3 separate regions of the Homo sapiens genome follow, and all the other regions are linked to region 1. The links are contacts of gene promoters, found by promoter capture Hi-C in blood cells and fetal thymus (Javierre and others, 2016). All regions are on one chromosome and are shown on one strand. Each heading gives the region's core, a stretch centred on a gene start or on the middle of the fragment in contact. The rest is flanking DNA. Distances are from core to core; before and after follow the strand shown.

What was found. Contacts are between HindIII fragments. The CHiCAGO score rates a contact against its expected background, and 5 or more counts as called.
Region 2: a contact is called between a fragment that was not itself captured here and the fragment with the promoter of CMTM5 in region 1, in 1 of 17 cell types (activated CD4 T cells). The highest score is 5.7, in activated CD4 T cells.
Region 3: a fragment that was not itself captured here is called in contact with the fragment with the promoter of CMTM5 in region 1 in 1 of 17 cell types (megakaryocytes); the score reaches 5.5 in megakaryocytes.

The regions. Positions count from the first base shown.
Region 1 is chr14:23,375,689-23,378,342 of GRCh38, forward strand. CMTM5 (CKLF like MARVEL transmembrane domain containing 5) reads left to right here and starts at 1,358. Exons shown (of 6, transcript NM_001288746.2): 1 at 1,358-1,689. The coding sequence starts at 1,564. It overlaps IL25 (interleukin 25), which reads left to right. Exons shown (of 3, transcript NM_172314.2): 3 at 1-715. The coding sequence ends at 192. The HindIII fragment of the contact is 2,824 bases long and covers 1-1,946 here.
Region 2 is chr14:23,247,970-23,250,623 of GRCh38, forward strand. The region is part of intron 4 of RNF212B (ring finger protein 212B); the gene reads left to right. Among named protein-coding and RNA genes, the nearest start is that of RNF212B, 11 kb to the left of the region's middle. The HindIII fragment of the contact is 696 bases long and covers 946-1,641 here.
Region 3 is chr14:23,449,960-23,452,613 of GRCh38, forward strand. No RefSeq gene overlaps it. Among named protein-coding and RNA genes, the nearest start is that of MYH7, 16 kb to the left of the region's middle. The HindIII fragment of the contact is 1,862 bases long and covers 376-2,237 here.

The sequences.
Region 1 (2,654 bases), core at 108-2,607:
TGCGTCAGCCTACAGACAGGCTCCCACATGGACCCCCGGGGCAACTCGGAGCTGCTCTACCACAACCAGACTGTCTTCTACCGGCGGCCATGCCATGGCGAGAAGGGCACCCACAAGGGCTACTGCCTGGAGCGCAGGCTGTACCGTGTTTCCTTAGCTTGTGTGTGTGTGCGGCCCCGTGTGATGGGCTAGCCGGACCTGCTGGAGGCTGGTCCCTTTTTGGGAAACCTGGAGCCAGGTGTACAACCACTTGCCATGAAGGGCCAGGATGCCCAGATGCTTGGCCCCTGTGAAGTGCTGTCTGGAGCAGCAGGATCCCGGGACAGGATGGGGGGCTTTGGGGAAAGCCTGCACTTCTGCACATTTTGAAAAGAGCAGCTGCTGCTTAGGGCCGCCGGAAGCTGGTGTCCTGTCATTTTCTCTCAGGAAAGGTTTTCAAAGTTCTGCCCATTTCTGGAGGCCACCACTCCTGTCTCTTCCTCTTTTCCCATCCCCTGCTACCCTGGCCCAGCACAGGCACTTTCTAGATATTTCCCCCTTGCTGGAGAAGAAAGAGCCCCTGGTTTTATTTGTTTGTTTACTCATCACTCAGTGAGCATCTACTTTGGGTGCATTCTAGTGTAGTTACTAGTCTTTTGACATGGATGATTCTGAGGAGGAAGCTGTTATTGAATGTATAGAGATTTATCCAAATAAATATCTTTATTTAAAAATGGCCTAATCTGTATTTGGCATCCGTGGTGCCTGAACATCTCGCGGTCTCCCAGCCTGTCCCTTCTCCTTTCCACCATTGGCCCTCACCTCTGTCCACCCTGCCAGCTCTCTCCGCCCTCCAGAGTTTCCGCTGCACCCTCCCGTCCTCTCCCATCTCTGTCTCCCTGGCCCATCCCAAACACCAGGGTGGGGGCTAGGCCGCGCTCCCGGCATGCTGGAGAGACAGAGGCCCATTGAGGCATTGCAGCAGGCACAGAGCGCCCCCTTGTCCCCCAACAATCCGCCTTTGTCCTCCAGTCCTGGCTGCTGCAGCTTGGTCCTGGGGGTGCTGCCTGGGCTGGGCTCCAGCTCACACCCTCCCTAAAAGGAAATGGGAGAAAGGACCGGCCAAACAAGAGGGTTAAGGTTAGAGAAGGGGGACACAAATGTCTTCAGGCTTAGGTCCCTGGGGGCTCCCAGTCCTGCCCCTGTTCCTCTACTCACATCCCAGCTCCTCCCAGTTTCTTTTCGGACCTCCTCCTCTCCCCTTCCTTCTCTATTCCAGGCTGGGTTGGGCTCTAAGCAAGGGGAGGGATTAGAGCCTCCTTCCTCTCTGCCCCTCCCCATGGGTCTCTAGGGGGCTGGTGCAGGCAGCAGCAGAGGCACTCTGGGCAGCTGGGTGAGGGCCCATCTGGGCAAGGCCCCCAGCGCCTGCCTTCTCTCCCGGGGCCCTGTGGGCAAGCCTCCTGCTTCACTTTCAGGTTTCTCGAAGTGCCTTCTTGCTCCTGTCTGTTTCCCCATCCTGCCAGATTTCTGTTTCTCTTGCTGGGCTTTTGGCAGTAGGGGGCTGTGTTGGTGGGCCCTACGAAGATGCTCAGTGCTCGAGATCGCCGGGACCGGCACCCTGAGGAGGGGGTAGTTGCAGAGCTCCAGGGCTTCGCGGTGGACAAGGCCTTCCTCACCTCCCACAAGGGCATCCTGCTGGAAACCGAGCTGGTAACAGCTGCCTCCCAACCTGGTGCCTCCATCTCCCTGACCCCCGGCTCCTGGCCAGCCTTATGCCAGCCCCCAGCTCACCCTTCAGTAGCCTCCTTCCCCAAGCCCTCTGGACACCTCTCCTGCCCGCAGCTGCCCCTTCTTCGTCTCCTACTCTGCCTTCTTGCTGCCTCTCCACCCGGAGACATTTACAGCAGGTTTCAGTTGCAGCAGGAAGGACTGCAGTTAGACAGGGTGACTTTTTGGGACATTGAGGAAGCTTGAGACATAGGGATGGGACAGGGGCAATGACAGCCTCTAACATGGCCACTTCTCAGCACGTCCAAGAAGTCTAACTATCAAAAAGGGCAGACTTCCTGCAACTGCACTTTATCTGTGGTCTGCTGCCCAGAAACATCTCTTCTCAGGAAAGGATCTTCCCCTGGTTACTTAGCAAGACCACAGTGTAGAGTTAAGGCCTCTGCACGTATGCCACCCTAGGTCATCAGAGCTAAAGGGGCTCCCAGAAACCACTGGGCAGCATCTGCCTTCTCTCTTGGCATGGAATCAAAGGCTCTGGTCCTTGTCAGGGGGCTTTCAGGCATCTGGGGGTGGGGAAAGCATTATGAGGCAGGGGGCTCCTCTTGGTCCCTGTGGAGTCGGGTCTCTGTGGGCACAACTCCAGGGGCTGGCATTCACACTGTACCTATGAATTACTGTGGGATAGTGCTCCTGGGAGCCATATGGCTTGGCCAGACTGCTGGGGTTGCTGGGTGAGCAGAGTGGGAGGCCGGAGACTGCCCTTGACCGGCAAATGCCCTGCAACGGTGGCTCCTGACACCAGGGGATAGGGAGATGTGCCAGAGTCCTTCCTCCCCTCCAAGGACAGGTAGTAGGTGCCAGCCTAGGGGAGCTTCCAAGGAGGGGAAGGCAAAGCCCTGGCCCCTGCCTGTGTCCCCTTCTTGGCATGTTCCACATGCTCGGTC
Region 2 (2,654 bases), core at 44-2,543, 130 kb before region 1:
CAGTTCTGGAGGCTGGGAAGTTCAACATCAAGGCACTAACAGATTCAGTGTCGGGGGAGGGCTTACTCTTTGCTTCCAAGATAATGCCTTCTTGCTGCATCCTCACATGGCAAAAGTGGCAAACAGGCTCCTTCAAGCCTCTTTTTATTTAGTTTTTTGAGACAGGGTCTCACTCTGTCACAAAGGCTGGAGTGCAGTGGTGTGGTTGTGGCCAGTGGTGCAATCATGGCTCCCTGCAGCCTTGCCCTCTTGAGCTCAGGCGATCCTCTCACCTCACCCTCCCAGGTAGCTGGGACTACAAGCACATGTCACCACACCTGGCTAGTTTTTGTGTTTTTTTTTTTTTAATAGATACAGGGTTTTACCATGTTGCCCAGGTCTCGAACCCCTGGGCTCACGCAATCTGCCCGCCTCAGCCTCCCAAAGTGCTGCAATTACAGGCATGAGCCACCACGCCCAACCCCAAGCCTCTTTTTTTTTTTTTTTTTTTGAGACAGAGTCTTGCTCTGTCGCCCAGACTGGAGTGCAGTGGCACGATCTCGGCTCACTGCAATCTCCGCCTCCCGGGTTCAAGCAATTATCCTGCCTCCACCTCCTGAGTAGCTGGGATTACGGGCATGCGCCACCACACCTGGCTAATTTTTGTATTTTTAATAGAGATGGGGTTTCACCGTGTTGGTCAGGCTAGTCTCGAATTCCTGACCTCGTGATCCGCCCACCTCAGCCTCCCAAAGTGCTGAGATTATGGGCATGAGCCATCACGCCCGGCCCCCAAGCCTCTTTTTATAAGGACACTAATCCCATTCACAAGAGCAAAGCCTTCATGACATAATCACCTCCTAAAGCCTCCATCTCTTAATACTATTGCATTGGGAGTTGAGTGTCAACAAATGAATTTTTGTGGGACACAAATATTCAGACCACAGCAGGCCAGTAAATATTTTAAGCTTTGCAGGCCATACAATTTCCGATGCTGCTACCCAACTCTGCTGTTGTAGCATGGAAGCAGCCATAGACAGCATGTAAGCAGCCACAGACAGCATGTAAGCAAATGTGTGTAATTATGTTCCAATAAAACTTATTTACAAAAACAGACAGCTGGTTATGGTCAGTTGTTTGCTGACCCTTGGTCTATTTTATGGTTTTTAAAAGATTTTTGAAGTCATATGTTTTTACTAATATATACATACATAATTGCTACATATACTGTTGGAATAAAATCAGGTCAAGATTTGATCTCATCAATAGACCAGAGCTTCTCCATCCCTCAGCTGAATTAAGAATTTGAACAACTGAGGTACTCAGTGGGCCAGGCGCAGTGGTTCATACCACTTTGGAGGCCAAGGTGGGAGGATTGCTTGAGGCCAGGGGTTTGAGACTAGCTTGGGCAACATAGTGAAACCCCTTCACTACAAAAAATTTAAAAATTAGCTGGGCATGGTGGCACACACCTGTAGTCCAGCTACTCAGGAGGCTGAGGTGGGAGAATTGCTTGATCCCAAGAGGTTGAGGCTGCAGTGAGCCATGATTGCACCACCATACTCCAGCTTGTGTAAAAATAAAAAATTAAAAAGAGATACTCAATGGTGCTTTTGAAGAAAAGTTGTATTTAGTTTGATATTATTTTACCTAAAAAGGAAAAGCTTTCAGTATTTAGGACTTCTGAAACAGTGTAGTTGAATTCTTCATCACTACTGAGCAGGGGATTGAGGAACCTTAGGCCAGTGTGAGGTAGTATTCCTTTGATCATACAAACTGTGCAACCCAAAACATAACCCTCTGCCTGGTGGGCTGCTGTGGCTCTCATCCAGAGTGGGTACTTCAGACATCTTACTAACAATTCTCCAATTGCTTTTGCTAAGAAAGCATTTTTAGGGTTCTTTTTTCCTCAAATCTGTTCCCTCTGAACCGTCACGATAATCTATTTCAATTACAAATCTGAACAAGTAACTGCCTTTTCAAAATCCTTTGGTGGCTTCCTATCACTTAAGTTTCAGACTGCTCAGAGTGATACATAGTTACCTTAACGTTCTGGTTCCTCCTAACCTCTCCAATTTCAATCACAACTACCATCTCACCTCTCATGTACAAACACAAGTTATTACGTAAGGTTATTTATTACCTAATCTATTAGGCAGATTCAGTTCTTTGCAGTTCTTTTACAGACCATATACTTTCATACCTTTATACCTGAAATGCCTGATTTCTACACTTTAAAAACTAAGTTAGGCCAGCCGTGGTGGCTCACGCCTCTAATCCCAGCACTTTTGGAGGCTGAGGGGGTGGATCACTTGAGGTCAGGGGTTCAAGATCAGCCTGGCCAATATGGTAAAACCCTGTCTCTACTAAAAATACAAAAAATTAGCCAGGTGTCATGGTGGCGCGTGCCTGTAATGCCAGCTGCTTGGGAGGCTGAGGCATGAGAATTGCTTGAACCTGGGAGGCAGAGGTTGCAGTGAGCCTAGAATGTGCCACTGCACTCCAGCCTGGGTGACAGAGCGAGACTCTGTCTCAAAAAAAAAAAAAAAGACTGAATTAATAATTACCTCTTAATCATTATCTCTATATCTTGTAAGTACTTGTGTTCTGCGTATAACCTAGTGTTTTACTTATTAGTTCATGTGTCAGAATGTCTCTTCTACTAGACTGTGATA
Region 3 (2,654 bases), core at 57-2,556, 74 kb after region 1:
GTGGGAGGTGTTTAGGTCCTGGGCGTAGATTTCTCATGAATGGTTTAGCTCCATCCCCTTGGTGCTGTCCTCACCATAGTGTGTGTGTTCTCTCAAGATCTGATTGTTTAAAAGCGTGTGGCACCCTCTCCCTGTCTTGCTCCCGCTCTTGCCATATGACATGCCTTCTCCTGCTTTGCCTTCTGCCATGAGTAAAAGTTCCTTGAGGCCTTCCCTGAAGCTGAGCAGATACTGTAAAGCCTGCAGAACTGTGAGGCAATTAAACCTCTTTTCTTCGTAAATTACCCAGTCTCAGGTACTTCTTCATAGCAATGCAAGAATGGCATAATACATACAGAGATTCTCAAACTTGTTCATGCTGCAGAATCACACAGAAGCTTTGTTAGGACACATTTTCTTGGCTGGGTGCAGTGGCTCATGCTTGTAATCCCAGGACTTTGGGAGGCAGATCATTTGAGGTCAGGAGTTTGAGACCAGCCTGATCAACATGATGAAACCCCATCTGTATGAAAAATACAAAACAATTAGCTGGTGTGGTGGTGCATGCCTATAATCCCAGCTACCTGGGAGCCTGAAGCAGGAGAATCACTTGGGCCTGGGAGGTGGAGACTGCAGTAAGCCGAGATTGCATCACTGCACTCCAGCCTGGGATGCCTGAATTTGCATACCAGATGCTACTGGATTGAGGACCACACATTGAGAACCACTGAATTAATGCATGTAAAGTGCTCAGAATAGTGCCTGGCATGTAGTAAATGCCCAATAAATGGAGCTACGGAGCTATTCATTTGCTATTTCTGAGTAAAAATATTAACATTTACTTGTTTGATATTTAGATTGTTTATAGTTTTAAATAACATTGTTATTGAGATATAATTCATGTGCCATAACATTTACCATTTTACAATATACGATTCAGTAGTTTTTAGTATATTCAGAGTTGTGCAAGCATCACCACTATCAAATTTTAGAACATTTTCATCACCCCCAAAAGAAATACCATACCTATTAGCAGTTACTCCTCTTTCCCACTGACTCCCTGTTTGTAGTTTTTTTGAACTTATAAATAAAGTATCTCTAAACATAAGTACACATGGCTTCTTTTTATTTTGAATGATTTCAATAGAACAAATTCTAGGAGACGAATTCCTTAGTCAAAAATTATGAATATGTTTACATATAGCCACTCTTTGAAAGCATTAATTTACAATCATTGTGGCTTTTTTTCCTGCTGTTGCTTTTCATTGTTAGCATATTGCTTATTCTTACACCGCTTCAGTTTCCTTAAGTTGATGGCACCAGAATATGAGGTCCTTGGGGTTGAGAACTGTAATATTTTCATCTTTGTGTCCCCTAGGGCTACACTACTGAGTGTGGTAGTCACTAGCCAAACATGGCTGTTGGGTACTTGAAATGTGTCTAGTGCAACTGAGACACTGAATTTTTCATTTAGTTAAAATTTAAAATGAAGGGAGATCAATTTATTTTCAACAAAGATTCCAAAACAATTCTTTGAGGAAATGGTGCTGGATACACACATGCAAAAAGATACATTTAGACCACACCCCACACTATACACAAAAATAACTTAAAACAGTTCAGAGACTTACATGTAAGATCTAAAACTTACAATTTTTGGAAGAAAACGTAGGAAAAGTCTTTGGTTAGGAAACAAGTTCTTACATACAATACCAAAAGCATAATCCACAAAAGACAAAATTGTAAGTTGGACTTCATCAAAGTTGAAAGATTTTGTGCTTCAAAAGATGTCATTAAGAAGATTAAAATTTTAAAAAGAAAATTAAAATCTAAGCCACAGACTGGAAGAAAATACTTGCAAATCATATTTCTAATAAAGGACTTGTGTTAAGAATAGATAAAGAACAAGTACAACTCAATAATAATACAAGAAAATTTTAAAATAGTCAAAAGATTTATAGACTTAAAGTCAGCTAATTAGCAAGGTTAAAGAAAGAAAAGATTTATAGATATTTCAACAAAGATATGCAAATGTATAACAAGCACACAAAATATGCTCAACATCATCAATCATTATAGAAATTCTAATTAAAACCTCAATGAGATAGCACTTCATACCCATGAGTGTGACTATAATAAAAAAGAAAGGCAATAATAAATTGTGGCTAGGATGTGGAGAAACCAAAACTCTCCAACATTGCTGGTGAGAACGTAAAATGCAACAGCTACTTTGGAAAACAGTTTGAACTTTTCTTAAAAGCTTAACTGACATACATGTACCAAATAACTCAGCCATCCACTTTTGGGTATTTACTCAATAGAAAAGAAAGTATATATCCACACAAAGACTTATATAAACAAGTTCAAACAAGCGTTTGTTCATAAACGCTTGGATATTATTCATAATATCCAAAAAGTGGAAATAATCCCAATGTTTATCATTAGGTGAACAGATAAACAAAATGTGGTACATCCATACAATGGAATATTATTCAGCAATAAAAAGGAATGAGTACTGATACATGTTATTAATGTAACATGGATTAACCTCAAAAACATGCTAAATGAAAGAATCCAGATGAAAAGGCCACATATTTTATGATTCCATTTCTATGAAATGTCCAGAAAAGGAAAATCTATGAAGACAGAAGGCAGTGGCTGCCTGAAGCTGGTGG